3 separate regions of the Homo sapiens genome follow, and regions 2 and 3 are each linked to region 1. The links are contacts of gene promoters, found by promoter capture Hi-C in blood cells and fetal thymus (Javierre and others, 2016). All regions are on one chromosome and are shown on one strand. Each heading gives the region's core, a stretch centred on a gene start or on the middle of the fragment in contact. The rest is flanking DNA. Distances are from core to core; before and after follow the strand shown.

What was found. Contacts are between HindIII fragments. The CHiCAGO score rates a contact against its expected background, and 5 or more counts as called.
Region 2: a contact is called between a fragment that was not itself captured here and the fragment with the promoter of ANKS3 in region 1, in 2 of 17 cell types (erythroblasts and M2 macrophages). The highest score is 5.6, in erythroblasts.
Region 3: a fragment that was not itself captured here is called in contact with the fragment with the promoter of ANKS3 in region 1 in 1 of 17 cell types (M1 macrophages); the score reaches 5.1 in M1 macrophages.

The regions. Positions count from the first base shown.
Region 1 is chr16:4,732,785-4,735,629 of GRCh38, forward strand. ANKS3 (ankyrin repeat and sterile alpha motif domain containing 3) reads right to left here and starts at 1,487. Exons shown (of 18, transcript NM_133450.4): 1 at 1,154-1,487. It overlaps DNAAF8 (dynein axonemal assembly factor 8), which reads left to right and starts at 1,753. Exons shown (of 10, transcript NM_139170.3): 1 at 1,753-1,914. RefSeq lists silencers at 1,273-1,332, 1,383-1,612. The HindIII fragment of the contact is 25,292 bases long and covers 1-2,845 here.
Region 2 is chr16:4,911,039-4,913,883 of GRCh38, forward strand. The region is part of intron 1 of PPL (periplakin); the gene reads right to left. It overlaps LOC124903637 (a long non-coding RNA gene), which reads left to right. Exons shown (of 3, transcript XR_007064965.1): 2 at 1,413-1,493. Among named protein-coding and RNA genes, the nearest start is that of PPL, 25 kb to the right of the region's middle. The HindIII fragment of the contact is 174 bases long and covers 1,311-1,484 here.
Region 3 is chr16:4,864,828-4,867,672 of GRCh38, forward strand. All of the region lies in intron 7 of UBN1 (ubinuclein 1), which reads left to right. Among named protein-coding and RNA genes, the nearest start is that of UBN1, 19 kb to the left of the region's middle. The HindIII fragment of the contact is 204 bases long and covers 1,291-1,494 here.

The DNA of each region.
Region 1 (2,845 bases), core at 237-2,736:
ACTTTTTGGTTCTGTCCATTCTGAAAATGCTAAGTATCTGTTACCTTTACAGTGAATCCTAAAGAAAATGTGGTACTTAGACACAATGGAGTACTATTCAGCCATAAAAAAAGAATGAGATCCTATCATTTGCAAAAACATGGATGGAAGCGGAGATCGTTATGTTTAGTGAAATAAGCCAGGCACAGAAAGATAAATATTGCATGTTCTCAATTATTTGTGGTTATCTAAAAATCAAAACAACTGAACTCATGGACATAGAAAGTAGAAGGATGGTTACTTCTAGTGTAACCAAGGCTGGGAAGGGTAGTGGAGGGTGGGGATGCTTAATGGATACAAAAAAAACAGAATGAATAAGATCTAGTATTTGATCAAGCCACTGCACTCCAGCCTGGGCGACAAAGCGAGACTCCGTCTCAAAAAAAAAAAAAAAAAAAAAAAGATCTAGTATTTGACCGCACAACAGGGTGACTATAGTCAATATAATCTAATTGCACATTTTATTTATTTATTATTATTTTTTTTGAGACATAATCTCACTCTGTTACCCAGGCTAGAGTGCAGCGGCGTGATCTCGGCTCAATGCAACCTCCGCCTCCTGGGTTCAAGCGATTCTCCTGCCTCAGCTTCCCGAGTAGCTGAGATTACAGGTATGAGCCACCATGCCAGCCTAGTTTTCGTATGTTTAGTAGAGACGAAGTGTCCCCATGTTGGCCAGGCTGGTCTCAAATCCTTGACTTCAGGTGATCCGCCCGCCTTTGCCTCCCAAAGTGCTAGGATTACAGGCGTGAGTGAGCCACCGCGCCCGGCTGCACATTTAAAAATAATTCAAAGAGTATAATCATATTGTTTGTAACACAAAGGATAAATGCTTGAAGGGATGGAGACCCCCATTTTACATGTGATTATTACGAACTGCATGCCTGTATCAAAATCTCTCATATACGCCATAAATATATACACCTACTACGTACCCACAAAAATTAAAAAATTTTTAAAAATCTTAACAAATGTGATGCTGGTGGTAACTGTCACGCCCACAGAGGAGGTCTGTGAAAGCACCCAGGCACCCCCTCTCGCCCCGTGGAACCGCATCGCAAAGGTAGCTCACTGGCCCCGGGGCGGGTCCCTGGCCGACAAACCCGTAACTCACAGCAGTGACGCTTCCCGACGCCCCCCGGCCACATCCCCACAGGAACGCTACGGCGCACAGGGCATTACTGTGCCCCCACCACAACCACATAAAGAAAATGTGGGGGCTCGGTCCTCCAGTCACGCGGCGAGCAAGTGCAGCGCGGGACGCCCGAGCGCCGGGTCTAGGCGGGCTGCAGGTGCCGGCAAGTGCTGGGGCCGGGCCGCCGCGGAACCCACCTGTGCTGGGCCTCAGGCCTTGCGCCGCCCTCGGGCTGCCGTCGCCAACCCCCCCCAAACAGCTCGCCGCCACGCTCCCTCGCCGGGGCACCGCCCCCGGCACCCGCCCCGGAAGTAGTTGCGGGAGGGCGCGGAGCACGCCGGGAAGCTCGCGGGTCGGCACCGGGACAGCTCCCGGGCGCCGTGGAATGCACACGTCCCGCACCCGGACCTTCCGGTCAGCTTCCCGGCTCGCTGTCTGATGCCCGCGGTAGCCAATGAGCTAGTGGTGTTTGTCCTGCTCCGTCCCCGCCCTCCAGGGGAACCAATCCCATTGCAGGAGAGGCAGGACGCGCAAAGGCCCGAAAGAGGAGCTGGGCGGGGTGGGGGGAAGGCGGAGGCAGTCTAGTAATGTAAAGCTCCGCTGAGAGGGAGAGTGCTGAAGAAGGGGACAGCCTCTGTACCTGCGGCGCGGCCCGAGGGGCGGACGCGAGCGGAGTGACGCGCTGGAGGCTGTTTATAGCGCTGTCAGGACAGCGCGGGGAGTGGAGGCAGAGGCCTGAGGTGAGGGGCCTCGGGCCTGCTGCGCCTGCAGGGAGTTGAACAAAACGCGGGGAAATACGGGCTGGGGGTGGGTGAGAGGAGGAGCGATGGGCTTTCCACTTCCACAGCTTTAAAATTTAAAAGCTCGACCCGGGAGGCTGTTGGCGTCTGGTTGCCATAACAACCGGCAGCCTCGTGGCAGGCCGGCTGGGGGCGGGGCTCTGAGAACCGGGGCGGGGCTGTGGCGGGGCTAACAGGCTGCAGCTGAGAAACCCACCCCGAGACGGAGCCGGAAGGCCGTTATTCAGAGGCGGCTCCGAGCCTCCCCTTCGCCTTCTGGATGCTCTGAGCTCCTCAACTTGGCGTTCAGGGCCCTGCATTGTCTGGTCCGTTTTCACCGGAGAGTCCAGCAACTGACACTTTCTTCCCTTAAACCTGTTGGGCGGTTCATTCCTTTGAGCTACTGTACATGCTCTTCCTTCTGCCGGTAATGCCGTTCCCTCCCCTATTGTCTTGTCCGCCTGAAGGGTTTATCAGAGTCTCTGGAGGCCCTCTTCATCCCGACGATTCTGTTGCCCTAAGAAATACTGTGCCCTGAATTGCGGAACAGAGCTCTAGTTACAAAAAACACCCGCTGGCTGTGTGCACCAGATGCGTCCCCAACCCGCTGCTCCCAGTTCAGAGTGCACCAAGCACCTGCCCTATTCCCAGAAGTACAGAGGAAGCAAGCAGCCCCCAATTCACATCTCCTGCCGCTGCCCTGATTGGGGATGAACGGGCACTGACTGCAGGGCCAAAGCCACAGCGGCCTCTCGAGCTGCAGAGTTCTCCTGACACTGGCTCTAGAGGACCCTCACCCCCCAGCTCTCAAGCTCAAGCTCCCCAGCCCCCTGAATAACAGGACCATCTCCTTTAAGACTCTAAGATATAAATGCAGGGGCTGGTCAGAGTA
Region 2 (2,845 bases), core at 148-2,647, 180 kb after region 1:
GCCCCACGCTCTGAGCAGGAGCTGCCCACAGAGCCTTTGAGGTAGTTGGGCTGTTCCCATAGGGCAACATCACTAAAGCCACAGAGACAAGGCAGCGCCTGGCAGGCGGTCAGCCTCCTTTTTTTTTTTTTTTTTTTTTTTGAGATGGAGTCTTGCTCTGTCACCCAGGCTAAAGTGCAGTGGCGTGATCTCAGCTTACTGCAACCTCCACTTCCTGGGTTCAAATGATTCTCATGCCTCAGCCTCCCCAGTAGCTGAGATTACAAGCATGCACCACCAAGCCTGGCTAATTTTTGTATTTTTAGTGGAGATGGGGTTCCACCATGTTGGCCAGGCTGGTCTTGAACTCCTGACCTCAAGTGATCCACCTATCTTGGCCTCCCAAAGTGCTGGGATTACAGGCGTGAGCCACCGCGCCCGCCCAGCCTCCACTTTGATCATTCTCTCTAATGCTTCTATTTTTTATTTTTATTCATTCATTCGTTCATTCATTCATTCATTCATTCATTTTATTGAGACGGAGTCTCACACTCTTGCCCAGGCTGGGGTGTAGCGGCACAGTCATGGCTCACTGCAGCCTCTATCTCCCAGGCTCAAGCAATCCTCCTAGCCCAGCCTCCCAAGTAGCTGGGACTACAGGCACATGCCACCACTCCTGCATAACTTTTACATTTCTTTTGGTAGAGAAGGGGTTTCACCATGTCACCCAGGCTGGTCTCGAACTCCTGAGCTCAAGCAATTCGTCCACCTTGGACTCCCAAAGTGCTGGGATTACAGATGTCAGCCACCAGGCCCCGACTACATATTTTTTTGTGAGAGATAGGGTCTCACTCTGTCACCCAGACTGGAGTGCAGTGGCGTGATCATAGTTCACTATAGCCTCGAACTCCTGAGCTCAAGCAATCCTCCTACCTCCACCTCCTGAGTAGCTGGGACCACTGGCACCACCAGCACACCCAGCTTCTAATGCTTCTATTTTGCCATGTTGGCAAAACGCACCATATTTGAAAAATTGGGAGATAACTCACATACCGTAAAATTCACCTGTTTAAAATACACAGTCACTGGCTTTTAGTACTACACATTCAGAATCGTGCAACCATCACCACTATCTCATTCCAGACATTTTTATCACCCCAAAGCTCCACACCCACAAGCTGTCACTCCCTATTCCCCACCCGCTCCAGCCCCTGGCAACCAGGAATTTACTTTTTCTCTCTATGGATTTGCCTATTCTGGACATTTCATATAAATAGAATCACACAACACGTGGCCTTTTGCGTCTGCCTTCTCTCAGCATAATGTTTTCAAGCTTTGTGCATATTGCAGCATCTATTAGAACTTCATTCTTTTTATGGCTGAATAATATTCCATCACGTGGCTACTTCACATTTTGCTTATTCATTCAACAGCTGACAACCATCTGGGCCGTTTCCACCTTTGGGCCATCGTGAGAATCACGCTGCTATGAACGTTCGGGAACAAGCTTTTGTGTGAGCAGTCTTATTTTTAATTACCTGATATTTTTCTTTCAACCTACTCGTTTTATTTTAGAGTTAAATGTGTTTACAAAGGTAACTTCTCTCCCCATTTTAATCAGAAATCAGAAGCCCTCACCATGAGTGAATTAGCTGCCAAAATAAATTTCATGGGAACGCAGTGGCACTGGGTTCCGTGGTGACACTGGGCTGCCCGCTGTTACAAGTCAGGAGGTGTGACAGCCGTGGTGGCGTCAGGCCCAGCCTTTCTCCTGATCTTCTCAGAGCGCCTGAAAGAGACTTGAGGCCCGGTGTGGTGGCTCATACCTGTAATCCCAGCACTTTGGGAGGCCAAGGCGGGCGAATCACCTGAGATCAGGAGTTTGAGACCAGCCTGGCCAACATGGTGAAACCCCATCTCTACTAAAAATACAAAAATTAGCTAGGTGTGGTGGCATGCGCCTGTAGTCCCAGCTACTCGGGAGGCTGAGGCAGGAGAACTGCTTGAACCTGGGAGGTGGAGGTGGCAGTGAGCTGAGATTGCACCACTGCACTCCAGCCTGGGTAACAGAGCGAGACTCCATCTCGAAAAAAAAAAACAAGAAAAGAAAAAAAAGTCTTGAAAGCAGACTGGCCCTCTCCCTCACTGTCTCTGTGTCCCCTCCTGTCACATTTGTCTACTGCCCCCCGTCCCCCAGAACCACAGACAGACCACTCTGGAAAATGCTCTAATGGGAGTTAGTTAAGACTTTGGCCCTGGGGTTAGCTGTGGGTTCAGATCTTGGCTCCCATCAGCCACTTAGTGGCTGTGTGACTTGGCCCAGCTCCCTTGCCTATCTGTGCCTCTGTCTCCCAATCCGATGGACTAGAGTAACAGTCCTTTCCCGGGGCCAGGGTGGCAGGGGTTATGAATGGAAGTGAGGTTACACTACCAAAGGACTGTGCATAGAGCCGGGCACAGAATAAGTCTGAACAAAGGTTTGTGATTTTAGTTGTCAAGGAGCCTTAGAGATCACCCAGCTCTGCCTCTGTGGTTTTGAGACCGAGTCTCACTCTGTCACCCAGGCTGGAAGTGCAGTGGTATCATCTTGGCTCGCTGCAACCTCCACTTCTTGGGGTCAAGTGATTCGGCTGCCTCAGCCTTTTGAGTAGCTGGGATTACAGGTGTGAGCCACCATGCCCAGCCTCCTTCTGTTGTTTTCTTTAAACAAAGAAAGAAAGGGAAACCAACTTGGCCATTGTCACCCAGTTAGCCAGCGATGATAGCTCCCCTGTCTCCACTGAAGACCCACAGTGGGGCCTGAGTGGCTAGGCACGCAGAAGTTGCCTTCTACTCACACTCATTAAGCACCTGCTGTGTGCGGGCC
Region 3 (2,845 bases), core at 143-2,642, 130 kb after region 1:
TGCAGGGAGAGATGGATCCAAAGAGAATAACGTAGGGGGAAAAAAAACGAAAACAACTTGTTTGATCTTTTTAAAAAAAATCATGCCCGATTTTCTCCTACTCAGCAAAAACAGATACAGTATATAAGATTTTGAGCTGGGTGCTAAAAGGCTACAGGTGACTTTTCTTAGAATAAATAAAACAGCTCATTAAAAGGCTGTTGGAACTCTTATAAATCAGCATGATTGGGATGTTTAACCTCATTTACTAGTTAACTTAGGATTGATTAATTCACACAACTTCTGGGGTAAGAGTGTCTCTTTTTAGGGGTGAGGGACCCCATTTATTTTTGGAAGACTATCAGATATATATCCAATTGCTCTTTTAATTAGATTTACTTTAAAATGCCGCAGTCGACTCTTCAGTATAAAGCCAGACCCTCAGAGATATTGTCTATGCAATTCAAAAGGTTTACAGAAAAGTACTTTCTAAAATTACATAATATTATTTAAAATATTTTTAAAGATTGCGTAAAGATTACATAGAAAGCTTCTGAAATATTGTACAAGTGGCTATCTAAACAGAAAATTTGGCAGGGCGCGGTGGCTCATGCCTGTAATCGCAGTACTTTGGGAGGCCGAGGTGGGAGGATCACCTGAGCCCAGGAGTTCCAGACCAGCCTGGGTAACAGAGTGAGAAAAAAAAATCTAAAAATTAGTCAGGCGTGGTTGCGTGCAGCTGTAGTCCCAGCTGCTTGGGAAGCTGAGGCGGGAGGATTATTTGAGCCTGGGAGGTCAAGGCTGTATGAGCTGCGATCACGTCACTGCACTCCAGAATGGGTGACAGAGTGAGACCATCTCAATAAAATAAGATGCTGGGCATGGTGGCTCAGCCTGTAATCCCAGCATTTTGGGTGGCTGAGGCGGGCGGATCACTTGGGGTCAGATGTTTGAGACCAGCCTGGCCAACATGGTGAAACCCCATCTCTACTAAAAATACAAAAAATTAGCCGAACATGGGGGTGGGTGCCTGTAATCCCAGCTACTCAGGAGGCTGAGGCAGGAGAATCACTTGAACCCGGGAGGTGGAGGTTGCAGTGAGCTGAGATCACGCCATTGCACTCCAGCCTGGGCAACAGAACAAGACTCCGTCTCAAAAACTAAACTAAAATAAAAAAATAAAAAATAATAAGATAAAATTTGATTGGAAGTTTAAGCTGTAGATGGGTCTGAAAGTGTGGCATGTGAAATACATGTTAATTAGTTTGAATTAATGTAAGGGTGCTTCTCGATCTTAAAACTAGCAGTGTAAGCTTAAGCAAAAAAAGTTCAGTTTTATTTTTTCCCAGACTAATATAATTCTAGTACCTTCCAAGTGCTAAGGTAGAATTCTGAATGTTTCCAAGAGTGTAAGAAATTGGCACATGGCTGGGTGAAAAGTCATGCCCTTTTTTTCCATTATTCGTCTGTGGATTTCACCCCTCTGGGCTTTCACCTAGCCAAGGGATCTGTAGAAGCTTGAGTTTTGCGCATTTTCTTCTGACTTAGTTTTGGTTGTTTGGTGTTAAGCTTTTCTTCCTGTGGCGTGCCGTTTTACAGTAGTATCTTCATTTGTTGATTCATTCACTCAGTCAACATTTAGTAAATATTATGTGACAGGCAGCCATGGGAAATATACTGATGAATAAGACTCAGTTCTATATTTTATTTTATTATTATTTTTTAAGACAGGGTCTTGCTCTGTCACCCAGGCTGGAGTGCAGTGGCACGATCTTGCCTTACTGCAACCTCCACGCCCAGGGCTCAAGTGATCCTGCCACCTCAGCCTCCAGAGTAGTTGGGACCACAGGCATGCACCACCATGCCCAGCTTTTTTTTGTATTTTTAGTAGAGACAGGGTCTCATCATGTGCCCAAGCTGGTCTGAAACTCCTGAGCTCGCGTGTTCCGCCCACCTTGGCCTCCCAATGTGTTAGGATTACAGGTGTGAGCCACCGCGCCGGGCCAAGGTTCCATTCTTGTCTTTCATGAGCTCGTTACATAAATGGACCCGATAGATACGCAGACAATGGACTGTAGTACAGAGCAGAATGAAGTAAGCTTTGTGATGTGTGGACGGCCAGATAGCCGGACTTAAGGGGTTAAAGAGAGGCTCTTGGGGGGCATATAGGAAGCAGACTGGAGGCAACAGGCTTCGCCGGCCTCCTGGGGAAGATGCCCTAAGAGAAGGCAGGGAGCAGAGCTGAAGATGGGCGAGTTGGTGGATGGCTGGGCCAGATCGTGGAGGACCCCAAATGCCATGTGAAGGAGTTTGGGTTTGATACCAGGCTTGGAAAGAGCTGCTGAAGGGTTCTGAAGAAGGGAGTGGCGGTCTTAAGGTTGGAGTGCAATTATTAGAAGTGGGGAACACAGGGGAAGAGCAGAAGCCAGTGGGTCTGGTGTAAGTTGAGTTTGCAAACCAGAGGGTCATCCATCCACAGAAGTGCAGTTGACCCTTGAACAACACAGGGTTTAACTGCGTGGATCCACTTACACGCAGATGTTTTCTAACCAAATGTGGGTTGATTTGAGGGATGCTAAATCTGTGTATAGAGGGCTAACTTTTTGTATAGGCAGGTTCCTCAGGGCTGACTGTGCAGTTGGATTTTGGTATATACGGGGGTCCTGTAACCAATCCCCTGCCTATACCAGGCGTTGACTGTAATTGGGAAATTTCTCAGAGATAACTGGAAATTCTGGTCCAGAGCTTAGATGAGAGGATTTAGGGCTTAGTTTAGATTTGAGTGTACAATTGTCTGTGTTATTTTGAAGCCCTGAGGGGGAAAGAAGTTATTGGGAGAAGTGGGTTCTAGTGAGAATCCTGGGGT